Linked DNA regions of Homo sapiens: all the other regions are linked to region 1. The links are contacts of gene promoters, found by promoter capture Hi-C in blood cells and fetal thymus (Javierre and others, 2016). All regions are on one chromosome and are shown on one strand. Each heading gives the region's core, a stretch centred on a gene start or on the middle of the fragment in contact. The rest is flanking DNA. Distances are from core to core; before and after follow the strand shown. Region 1 holds the start of COL9A2 (collagen type IX alpha 2 chain). Region 2 holds the start of ZFP69B (ZFP69 zinc finger protein B). Region 3 has its middle 24 kb from the start of PPT1.

What was found. The method cuts DNA at HindIII sites, captures the fragments that hold promoters and counts their contacts. A CHiCAGO score of 5 or more calls a contact.
Region 2: the fragment with the promoter of ZFP69B here is called in contact with the fragment with the promoter of COL9A2 in region 1 in 1 of 17 cell types (neutrophils); the score reaches 6.1 in neutrophils.
Region 3: a fragment that was not itself captured here is called in contact with the fragment with the promoter of COL9A2 in region 1 in 2 of 17 cell types (total B cells and erythroblasts); the score reaches 6.3 in total B cells.

What each region holds. Positions count from the first base shown.
Region 1 is chr1:40,315,641-40,318,559 of GRCh38, forward strand. COL9A2 (collagen type IX alpha 2 chain) reads right to left here and starts at 1,646. Exons shown (of 32, transcript NM_001852.4): 1 at 1,483-1,646; 2 at 1-24. The coding sequence starts at 1,557. RefSeq lists silencers at 1-60, 821-1,330 and enhancers at 504-1,140, 1,141-1,777. The HindIII fragment of the contact is 22,313 bases long and covers 1-2,919 here.
Region 2 is chr1:40,449,117-40,452,356 of GRCh38, forward strand. It overlaps ZFP69B (ZFP69 zinc finger protein B), which reads left to right and starts at 1,360. Exons shown (of 5, transcript NM_023070.3): 1 at 1,360-1,972. The coding sequence starts at 1,846. It overlaps ZFP69B-DT (ZFP69B divergent transcript), which reads right to left and starts at 923. Exons shown (of 5, transcript NR_198977.1): 1 at 704-923. RefSeq lists a silencer at 979-1,238 and an enhancer at 1,454-2,653. The HindIII fragment of the contact is 15,908 bases long and covers 1-2,452 here.
Region 3 is chr1:40,120,108-40,123,332 of GRCh38, forward strand. No RefSeq gene overlaps it. Among named protein-coding and RNA genes, the nearest start is that of PPT1, 24 kb to the left of the region's middle. The HindIII fragment of the contact is 1,890 bases long and covers 827-2,716 here.

The DNA.
Region 1 (2,919 bases), core at 396-2,895:
GCCCCGCTCTCCCGGTGGACCTCTCTGAAAAACACACACGGGGTGGGGCAGTCCTCAGACAGTGCAGGAAGCTGGGCGTCCCCGGGGCTGCAAGCGACCCTGGGAGCGGGGTCCTAGGGGCGCAGCTCTTCCGCGAACTCCCACGTATTGAGAATCTTCTGTATAGCAGGCACTGTGTGCCATTACATGCATTCATTATCTTACAGAATACTCAGAACCGGGAGGCGGGCGCTATTACGGGCCCCAGTTTGCAGTCGAAGAAACTGGCTCAGAACGTGAAGGGTCCATGGTCACTGAGAGTGGGCGGCGGCGCCAGGAGTCCGCCCTGGATCTGCCCGACTCCTTCCACTGTGCCAGTTTGCCCTTGCGCGGTCGCGGTGGGGAATAGATGGAGACGTGGACAGCTCAAATAAATCACAGATGGAATGTAAGGTTGTGCCTAGCAGGCTGCCGGCCCTCAGTGAGCGGTGGCTCGGGTTGTTGTTCTTACGTGAACGACAGGCAGAGACAGCGCCTCCTCCTCTCCCCATGGTGCGGGAAAACCCGACGGGAAAGTGGGGGAGGCGCAGAGAAAGGAGGTGTAGGGAGGTGAAGCGGGTACTATCTTCCCACTCGGAGCGCCCCTTCGGCAGCACAGCTGCCCGGTCCTCCCTCTGCTAAGCCCTGACTGCTGCAGGGGAGCAGGAGGAGCCGGCACCTCCCAGAAAGCAGACCCTCTCTCTGGATCCCGTTTGCCTGCAATTCAATGCCCCTGGGTGGGTGTGAGGTTTCAGGGAGGTCACAAGTCATATCAAGATGAGGCGAGCTCACAGCTGGAGAGTCTCCATCCTGCTGCCCATCTCTGAACAGATCAGAGATCTTAAAAGGCGGCCCTTTTAAGAGGCCAGCTCGGACCCAGGCAGGGGTCCCGGTGCCCACGACCTCCCCAGGCCGCGAAGTGCCAGGCTGGCGCCCCGCAGGCGAGCTCGAAACCACACCCAGCACCCGACCGGGCCCAGTCTCTGCCCTACCCGCGCGCCCGCAGCCCCCGGCGGCCCTCGGAAGGGAGACGTGGGTAGGCGGGCAGGGCCGAGAGGCCGCCTCGGGGCGACAGCGGCGTCTGGTTGGAGCCGGCGCCCCCTGGGAGGCGGCGGGGGCGGAGGCTGCGCAGCGGGTGAATGAGCACCATTGTATGCCCCGCCACCTGGGCTCCCCGGGCTGCCAGGACCGGGCGCCAGCTCCTGCCCCACGCTGCCTGTCCCGGGCCGGGCCGCGCGTCTGGGGACGGGTCCCGTTTGACTCTCCGGCTCAGCCACCTCCATTCACGGTGCCGCGATGGGCACCATGTATGCACCCACCGAGGGGACCTGCCCGCGGCGCTGTCCTCAGGTGGCCTCTCGGGCTAGGGGTGTCAGTAGGCGCGGGACACAGGCAGAGCTCCTCCATCCCGGACTCCAGACCCCGCACCCTGGACCCTGGCAGCGGAGGGGCTGCGAAACTTACAATCTGCGCCAGAGCGAGCACTACCACCTGGAGGAGAACAAGGAGGCTGCGGGGGGAGGCCGTAGCGGCGGCCATGGCTGGCGGCGAGACCAAGGGGGACGGGTGCGTGTCCGCGCACGCACCGACGGCAGAGTCTCCCGGCGCTCCTCCAGCGCTGGCTGTTCGCGGGCAGGGTGGGCTGGGGCTCCTGAATATGCGGGGGGCGGGGCGGGGGCCGGCGTGAGCTGTCACCTGAGAGGACCGGCGGGGTTGCCGGGAGGGAGGCCGGCGCCAGGCATCCAGCTCCGCCCCGCTCGGTCCAGCCTCCTGCGCCCACCCTCTGTCCTCGAGGGGCGACCGGGGTGCGGGTCGGAGATGATGGTCCAGTTTCTTTGTGAGAAGGCATAAGGCCGTCTGAGGTTCCCCTCGGGACCTTCAGGCCCCAGCACCTTCCCCCTGACGCACAGCCTGTGCCCCATCACTTACCCTACGTCCTCTCCAGGGCCCAGGCCGAGAGCACCTCGGGCTCTGCAGATCTTGCTGCAGGCTCTCCCCAGCTCCCGCCCACCTTGCTCCCCTCTCCTCTGGCTCCTTCCTCTCCAAGCACAAACAAACAGGCCTTTTCCATATTAATATGCCACAGTCCTTCCTGGATCAGCCGTCTCATGAATACTCCATCGGCCTCTTCCAGCTCTTTAGTGGAGCTGTGTGCACCTCCCCCACCCCCGAACTTCCTCACCTCGCTTTCACCTCCCTACTCTGTCCCAACAAGCAAATCTGTCTCCTGGAGGTCTGCAGTGAAGCCCAACCCTTCTTCGGTCCTCCAGGCAGGAAGCTGTTGGCATCTTCACCTGCCCTTGAAGTCTTCCCCATCCAAGCTCCTGCCATCCAGCTCCCCTTTTTCTATTGCCTTTAATTCTCTGCAGCTGCCTTAAGCACTGGTGTGTTTAGGATTGGGCCTTCTCACTCCATGTTCATAGAAACAACTACCACTTTATTCACCAGAGTTTCCGAACCCCGCTGTCCAGCATAGCCCGACTCCAGAGAGCCTTCCCTTCCCTCCCACTCACTTAGGCAATATTGGTAAAATGCTTTGGAATCTGACTTTTTCACAATTATAGATATGACCACAGGCACCCCAAACTCTATGAAGTCTCATTTTCCTCATCTGTAAAATGGGGATACTAATAGTCCATATATATATATATATATATTTTTTTTTTAAGACAGAGTCTTAAAAGGCTCTGGAGTGCAGTGGCACGATGTCAGCTAACTGCAACCTCGCCTCGCGGGTTCAAATGATTCCCCTGCCTCAGCCTCTCGAGTAGCTGGAATTACAGGCATGAGCCACAATGCCTGGCTAATTTTTATATTTTTAGTAGAGATGGGGTTTCGCCATGTTGGCCAGACTGCTCTTGAACTCCTGACTTCAGGTGATCTGCCTGCCTCAGCCTCCCA
Region 2 (3,240 bases), core at 110-2,609, 130 kb after region 1:
TTTATTTTCTCAGTGTGGAGACTAGAAGCCCCAAGTAAGGTCGAGTTGGGTTCGTTTCTGACTAGGACTATATTCTAACCTTAATTACTTCCATAAAGGCCTTATCTCTAAATACTCTCCAAATACAATGGAGGTTAGGGCTTCAAGATAAATTTTGGGGAATCCAAACATTCGGTTCATAACAGCTAGCAAGTACTATAATTGTATTCTATTTCCTCATTTGTTGTTTTTGTAAACTGTTGATGTAGAAATGTATTTGGAGTGATGTACTCAAATTTTGTTGGAGGGAGAAAACTCAGCAATAAAACAGCATTACAGTATAATCGCTTTTGTGGAAAATATATAACAATGCATGAAATACGTTGTGTGTGTGCAGGAAAGGTTGTACACCAACTGTTAGCAAGGTTACCGCTGCTTGCTGAAATTACAGGCAATAATTTTTTTGTTTTTGTGTATTTTCTGGCATTTCAGAAATACAAGGTAAGCAATAAACATGAGAACTTTTATTGAATACTAGAAGAGAAAACTGTTGTGGTATTCTTTTAACAATATACCGGAATCCATTCAACTGTCTGCTGAGAATAAATAACTGGCATGTACATAATATTTAGGGAAAGTGCTATGGATTATTTTACACCAGTGTCGTTTCACCAAAAAACGTGATGCCGATGGCTCCCTTTTGTCACGGGTTTCAAAGGCTCACCCTAACGTTCACGTGCATTTTCCCAGCGGAGGAAAGATGGTTGTTCTTCATCAGAGTCTGGGGCCCAAGAACGCAGGCTCCATCTCCTCCCGCAGGAGCCAGGCTGATGATGCTCGCAGGGATCGGATACTGGGAGCCCCTGAACGCAGCCAACCCGGCGCGCACCGGTGGGGGCGTCTGCGCTGGCGGAGCGGCTCCCCGGGAGGACGCTGGGAACCATGCTCTAGCCAGCCGCTGCGCAGGCGCACTGGGCCCCGACTGCCCGCCGCAGCGCTACGTGGGAGCTTGGCCGCGCAGTGCCGGAACCCGGCTGCAGCGGTGGGAAGGCGGGGGCGTGCCGGCCCAGCGGGGAGAGGGTGAGCGGGTGGCTGTCCCGGGCTTGGGGAGCTGGGCGAGCCGGGAAGCGCGAGTTCCGCCCGCGGCCACCCTGTCGCGCGCGGTGCTCTCCGCAGCCCCGGAGTCGTGCTCAGACAAAGGCTGGGAGGCTAGGGCCGGGGGCGTTTTGCTTTGTGGGGAGGACTTAGCCTCTCATTTGGGGAGGAGGAGGCGGGGTCTAGCGGTTTCGCGGTTTGCTACAGCCGACTAGTGAAAGAGCTGGGATTCCAAATCCCCGGCTACTTTACACATAATTACTGCCCCAAACAAAGAATTGGGTTGTATTCGTCTCTTTGTGCTTCCTGACATGTGCGCGGTGCTTTGAATTTTGTGGGCTGTGTCTGCCCACCGTCTCCGTGTATCTTTTGGAAACATTTTACAGTGATCCATATATGTTCTAGCGTTCTGCCCTATGACTGAGCCTCCTTAGTCCTTTGCTGATTCTAATGTCTTCTGCTCAGCATCTGCAGGGGCTGCTGAGAGTAAATACTTGGCGCCTCCAGCTGCTGGCCAAGGAGACAGATGGAGCTCAAGTTGGGAGATACGCCCTGAGAGCCGATGATAGACACAAGTCCAGATCTCGGATTTTGATACTGTATGTTCCCTGGGTTCCTGAGAGAGGACATTGAGGAGTAGGAGTCGGCGATTAAGGAGATCGGTACAATTGGGAAGCCTCCTGTCAGAGCTTCCAGCAATTTCCTCATCAGAGGTGGACAAGCCCTATGGGCTAAGACAGAGGGTCCTCAGAAAGGAGTGCGGACGCCGTCATGCTGCAGCAGCTCCTGATCACCCTGCCCACCGAGGCCAGCACCTGGGTGAAGTTGCGTCATCCAAAGGCGGCCACGGAGCGGGTGGCCCTGTGGGAGGATGTGACTAAGATGTTTAAAGCAGAAGGTAAGAATAAACTGATGGGTGGGAGGGAGGAAAAGCAGTCCCCTCTAGTGTGAGAAGGAATGAGTCACTTGAGTGGAAGCATCTCTTAGGGAGACGAGTGGGTGGAGGGTTTCCGGAGTTGTTGATTGTGGCTCCTAGTCTGGGGTTTTCCTAAGTAGTGGTGGTCTTTTCAGCCTAGGACCAGTATTTCAGTGTCATGGTTATGTATATTATTTATTTTCATCTTTCCCATGGCCATGTGGGGCAGGATGGACTTAACCTGATTTTTCTTATTCTAACAGTGGGGAAATGTAAATCAAATGGGAGGCCTGCCCAGGGTCACACAGGAACTTGGTGGCTAGGTCAGAAAGAGAAGCAGCAGGGGAAGTACCAGGTGAGCCTGGAGTAACTTGTGCTAGAAAGCAAGGAAGAGCTTAAAGACTATGGATATGTGTCAAAAGAGGCCAGGTTTAAGGGTCTCTCACTCGACAGATTTGGGAAAGCTTAAGTATCCAAACTGATGGTAACACCTTGAATAAGTAAAATTCCACATGATCACCTTGACACTTAAAATAGAGAAAGACGTGGGGGGGGGGGAATTCATTTGCAAACATTGGAGGTAATTAATACACTGATTCCTTACTTTGAAAAATAGGTTATTATGGGAATGAATGTGCATTTACCTTGCCTTTTAGATCCTCTTCAGTTGGTGAGGGAAAGCTTTTTACAGAAAATGCGTGCCAATAATGAAGGTAGAAAGAGGCCAGGTGTGGTGGCTCATGCCTGTAATCCCAGCAATTTGGGAAGCCAAGGTGGGCGGATTGCTTGAGACCAGGAGTTTGAGGTCAGCAGTTTGAGACCAGCCTGGCCAACATGATGAAACCCCATCTCTGCTAAAAATACAAAAATTAGCTGGGCGTGGTGGCACATGCCTGTAATCCCAGCTACTCGGGAGGTTGAGGCACGAGAATCGCTTGAACTAGGAAAGGGGAGGTTTCAGTGAGCTGAGATGGCGCCACTGCACTCCAGGCTGGGTGACAGAGCAAGACCTTGTCTCAAAAATAAATAAATAAATAAATAAATGTAGAAAGAATGATAGAATCTTTTACCGTAAATAAAATAATTGAAAGGTTAATGGGGAACAGATACTCACATGATATCAAAGTATTATCCCCTCAAATTACTTACTAAATGGCAAGGAATGAACATAATTTTCCAATAGTGAGGTGTGGTGGTCACAGTTTTAATCAAATGTCTCAGTAATGGGATAGCCGGGCATTTTATACTTT
Region 3 (3,225 bases), core at 522-3,021, 200 kb before region 1:
AAAAATACAAAAATTAGCCAGGCATGGTGGCACATGCCTGTAGTCTCAGCTACTCAGGACGGTGAGGCAGGAGAATCATTTGAACCCGGGAAGAGGAGGTTACAGTGAGCCAAGATTGTGCCACTGCACTCCAGCCGGGGTGACAGAGCGAGACTCCATCTCAAAAAAAAAAAAGGAAAGAAAAAAGAAAGAAAAGAAAGAGCAGTAACTTCGGGCGTTGCCATGGAAATGGTAAACTGACATGGCACACTAGTGGGAGTGTCTTACAGAGAGGTGCTTTGGACTTTTCCCTGTTTTAGCTATTTCTCTATCTGGTCCGAGGTTCAAGCCCTGCCTCTGGAGATGAGTTTCACATCCTACCTCAATGGCATTTACAGTTGCCTCACCTTCTTCCTGAGACATTCTGTACCCAAATCTTTGCATGACTGGCTCATTCTTGTCATTAGTTTTTCAGCTCAAATGGGAGTCCCTCGGAGATGCCTTCCCAAGACCATCAGTCTACAATACAAGGCAGCACTGTTTTTTATTTTCTTCAGAGCAATGTTTACTCTTGTCCATTTTTGTTTACTTGATTATTATCAAACTCTTCTGTCTAAAGGAGGACTAACCAGTAGAATTTTCTGCAATGATGGAAGTATTGTTATATTTGAGCTGTCCAATATAGTAGCCACTAGTTACCATATGACTCCTATGCACTTGACATGTGGCTAGTGTGAATGAGTAAAAGAATTTTTAATTTAATTTAATTTAATTTTAACTGATTTAAATTTAGATAGCCACATGTGGCCAGTGGCTACTGTACTGGACAACACAGTTCTAGTATGTAAGCTTTGAGAGAGCAGGGATTCAATCTTATGCTTTGCCATATCTCCAGAACCTAGAACAATTAAATACTTCTAACCAAGATATTCTTTGGAGGATGGAGTCTTGTCAGTGTCTAACATTTGGGTCAGATGTGGCCAGCAATGAGTCATTCATTGATTTGGCTTTTGTCTTAGGAACATCAAGATGAAGATCAAGGAGATCCCTTTTCTTCAAAACATTGCTGAAAAAGATAGTGTAACAACATTGCAGAAAAAATTTTAAAAGTAAGTAACCTCCTACAATTCTTCCAGCAAACATTGCAACTGTTTTAATTTTTTGCATACTGTCTTCCAGATTTTGTTCACATGCAGGTGTCTTTTCAATATTTTGCAGACACAGAGGACACCATCAAAACTTTGTCCTTGGGGGCTGGGCACGGTGGCTCATGCCTGTAATCCCAGCACTTTGGGAGGCCAAGGCAGGCGGATCATTTGAGGTCAGGAGTTTGAGACCAGCCTGGCCAACATGGTGAAACTCTGTCTCTACTAAAAATACAAAAATTAGCCAGGCGTGGTGGCGCGTGCCTGTAATCTCAGCTACTCTGAGGCAGGAGAATTGCTTGAACTCAGGAGGTTGAGGTTGCAGTGAGCCAAGATTGCGCCATTGCATTCTAGCCTGTGCGACACAGACTCCATCTCAAAAAACAAAAACAAAAACAAAAACAAATACCTTTGTCCTTGGAGAACATCTCCAATGCCCAGCCAGGTCTTAGCTCAGAAGGAACCTGACTATTGGAGTCATTTCCTGTGGCTCACCCAGTGAAGAGATCTTACCACCCCACAGCCACTTGGAGAGCCCCGTGCATTGAAGACACTGGGTTTGGCCCTGGGTATATAGCAATTGAAGATCATTTGTGAAGGACTGATATTGAAGAAGGCAGGGGCTATGCTGGCTTATTCATTCATCCAACAACTACTATACTGTGCTATTGAATATCATAAATATTTTCCTTATTTGTACAGGGTCTACTATTTTCCTTTTTATGGCTGAGTAGCAGACACACCAAAATCTACTAAACCTATTCTTTGTGGATTGTAGACCATTTAACTTATGCCCATTATTGGATCTTACAGAATTCTGTAATTAACTCTTCCTGCATGGAGCTTTTTACTTTTGTTGTATTATTTCCTTATAGTGTAGTAGTTGCTTATGTGTATAGGTTCTGGAAAGAGATGATCTGGTTTTTAACACTATCCATGGTAGTTTGGGCAAATTTCTTAACTTCTCTATATCTCAGTATTTCATTTATCAAGAAGGGTCACTAATAACACCTTCCTCATAGGATTGTTGTGAGAATTGAAATGAATAAATTACATGTAAAGTGCTTGGTTCTGAGTTAGTACTCTATACAGAATAACAACTGCTGTTATTATTAATTCTTGATCCAGGAGTAATTTCAAGGATATTAATATTTTCAAGACTGTTTCTAGATTGTGGTAATGGTTGTACAACTCTGCAAATATATTAAAAGTCATTGAACTATACACTCAATAAAAGCCTTTTGCTAATTATGGCTATTTTGTTTTCCCAAATGGTATTCCTATTTTCATTCCTATCCTCACCTCAATTTTATCACAATCTCATCAGAAATGGGGGCTACTATTTTAAATACAGTTTTCTTTATTTGAGAAAGGTCAAATAGAACCCTTAATGTGCTTTCTCTTGCATTTTTTACCTTATTACTAGCAACGAATGCATGTATTGTTTACTCTTTGCTTCCTATTGAATATTTGCTCCCTCTTGCTCTAACTCTGCCCATTTTACTTCTGTGGCTGAAGTCCTTTTTCTTGAATAATCTATTTCTTAGTATGTCTTAATTTACTAATAATAGTGAGTTGGTCTCTAAAAGGAAAGCTTTGAAAAAGCTAATTGTTTTCTCCTTAAAGGGCTCCTCAATATTCTACCAGACCTATGTTCTCATTAGCCAAGGGCCTTCTCCCAACATAGTCTTTCCATCCTAATGTACCTGCAGCATTTTTCCCAGGGCCTGCACTCTAAAGACTTGATAAGAAAAACTTTGAACACATGCTCCTTTCTTCTTGCTTTTCATATCTACTGATTGGGCTTGGAATTCTGCCAAGATAAACAGTGTCCTCTGCTCTTCAGGAAAATGCAAGGCTTCTCAACCATCTTTGAGGGGCCTGCTTCAGATGACAATTTCACAACATGTTCACAGGGCAAACTTGGATTGAGAAGACCCCCAATTTAGAGACAATAAATCTCCAACTGGAAAGAAAGCATCACTACTTTCCCTAGTACAGTAATGTTAATTGAAATATACAGAATGTTGTAACTCTTGCAGTTCCATTTAAGTGAACTAGGGATGACAGCAAAAGAGGCTGACAAGCTGGCCAAACAGGG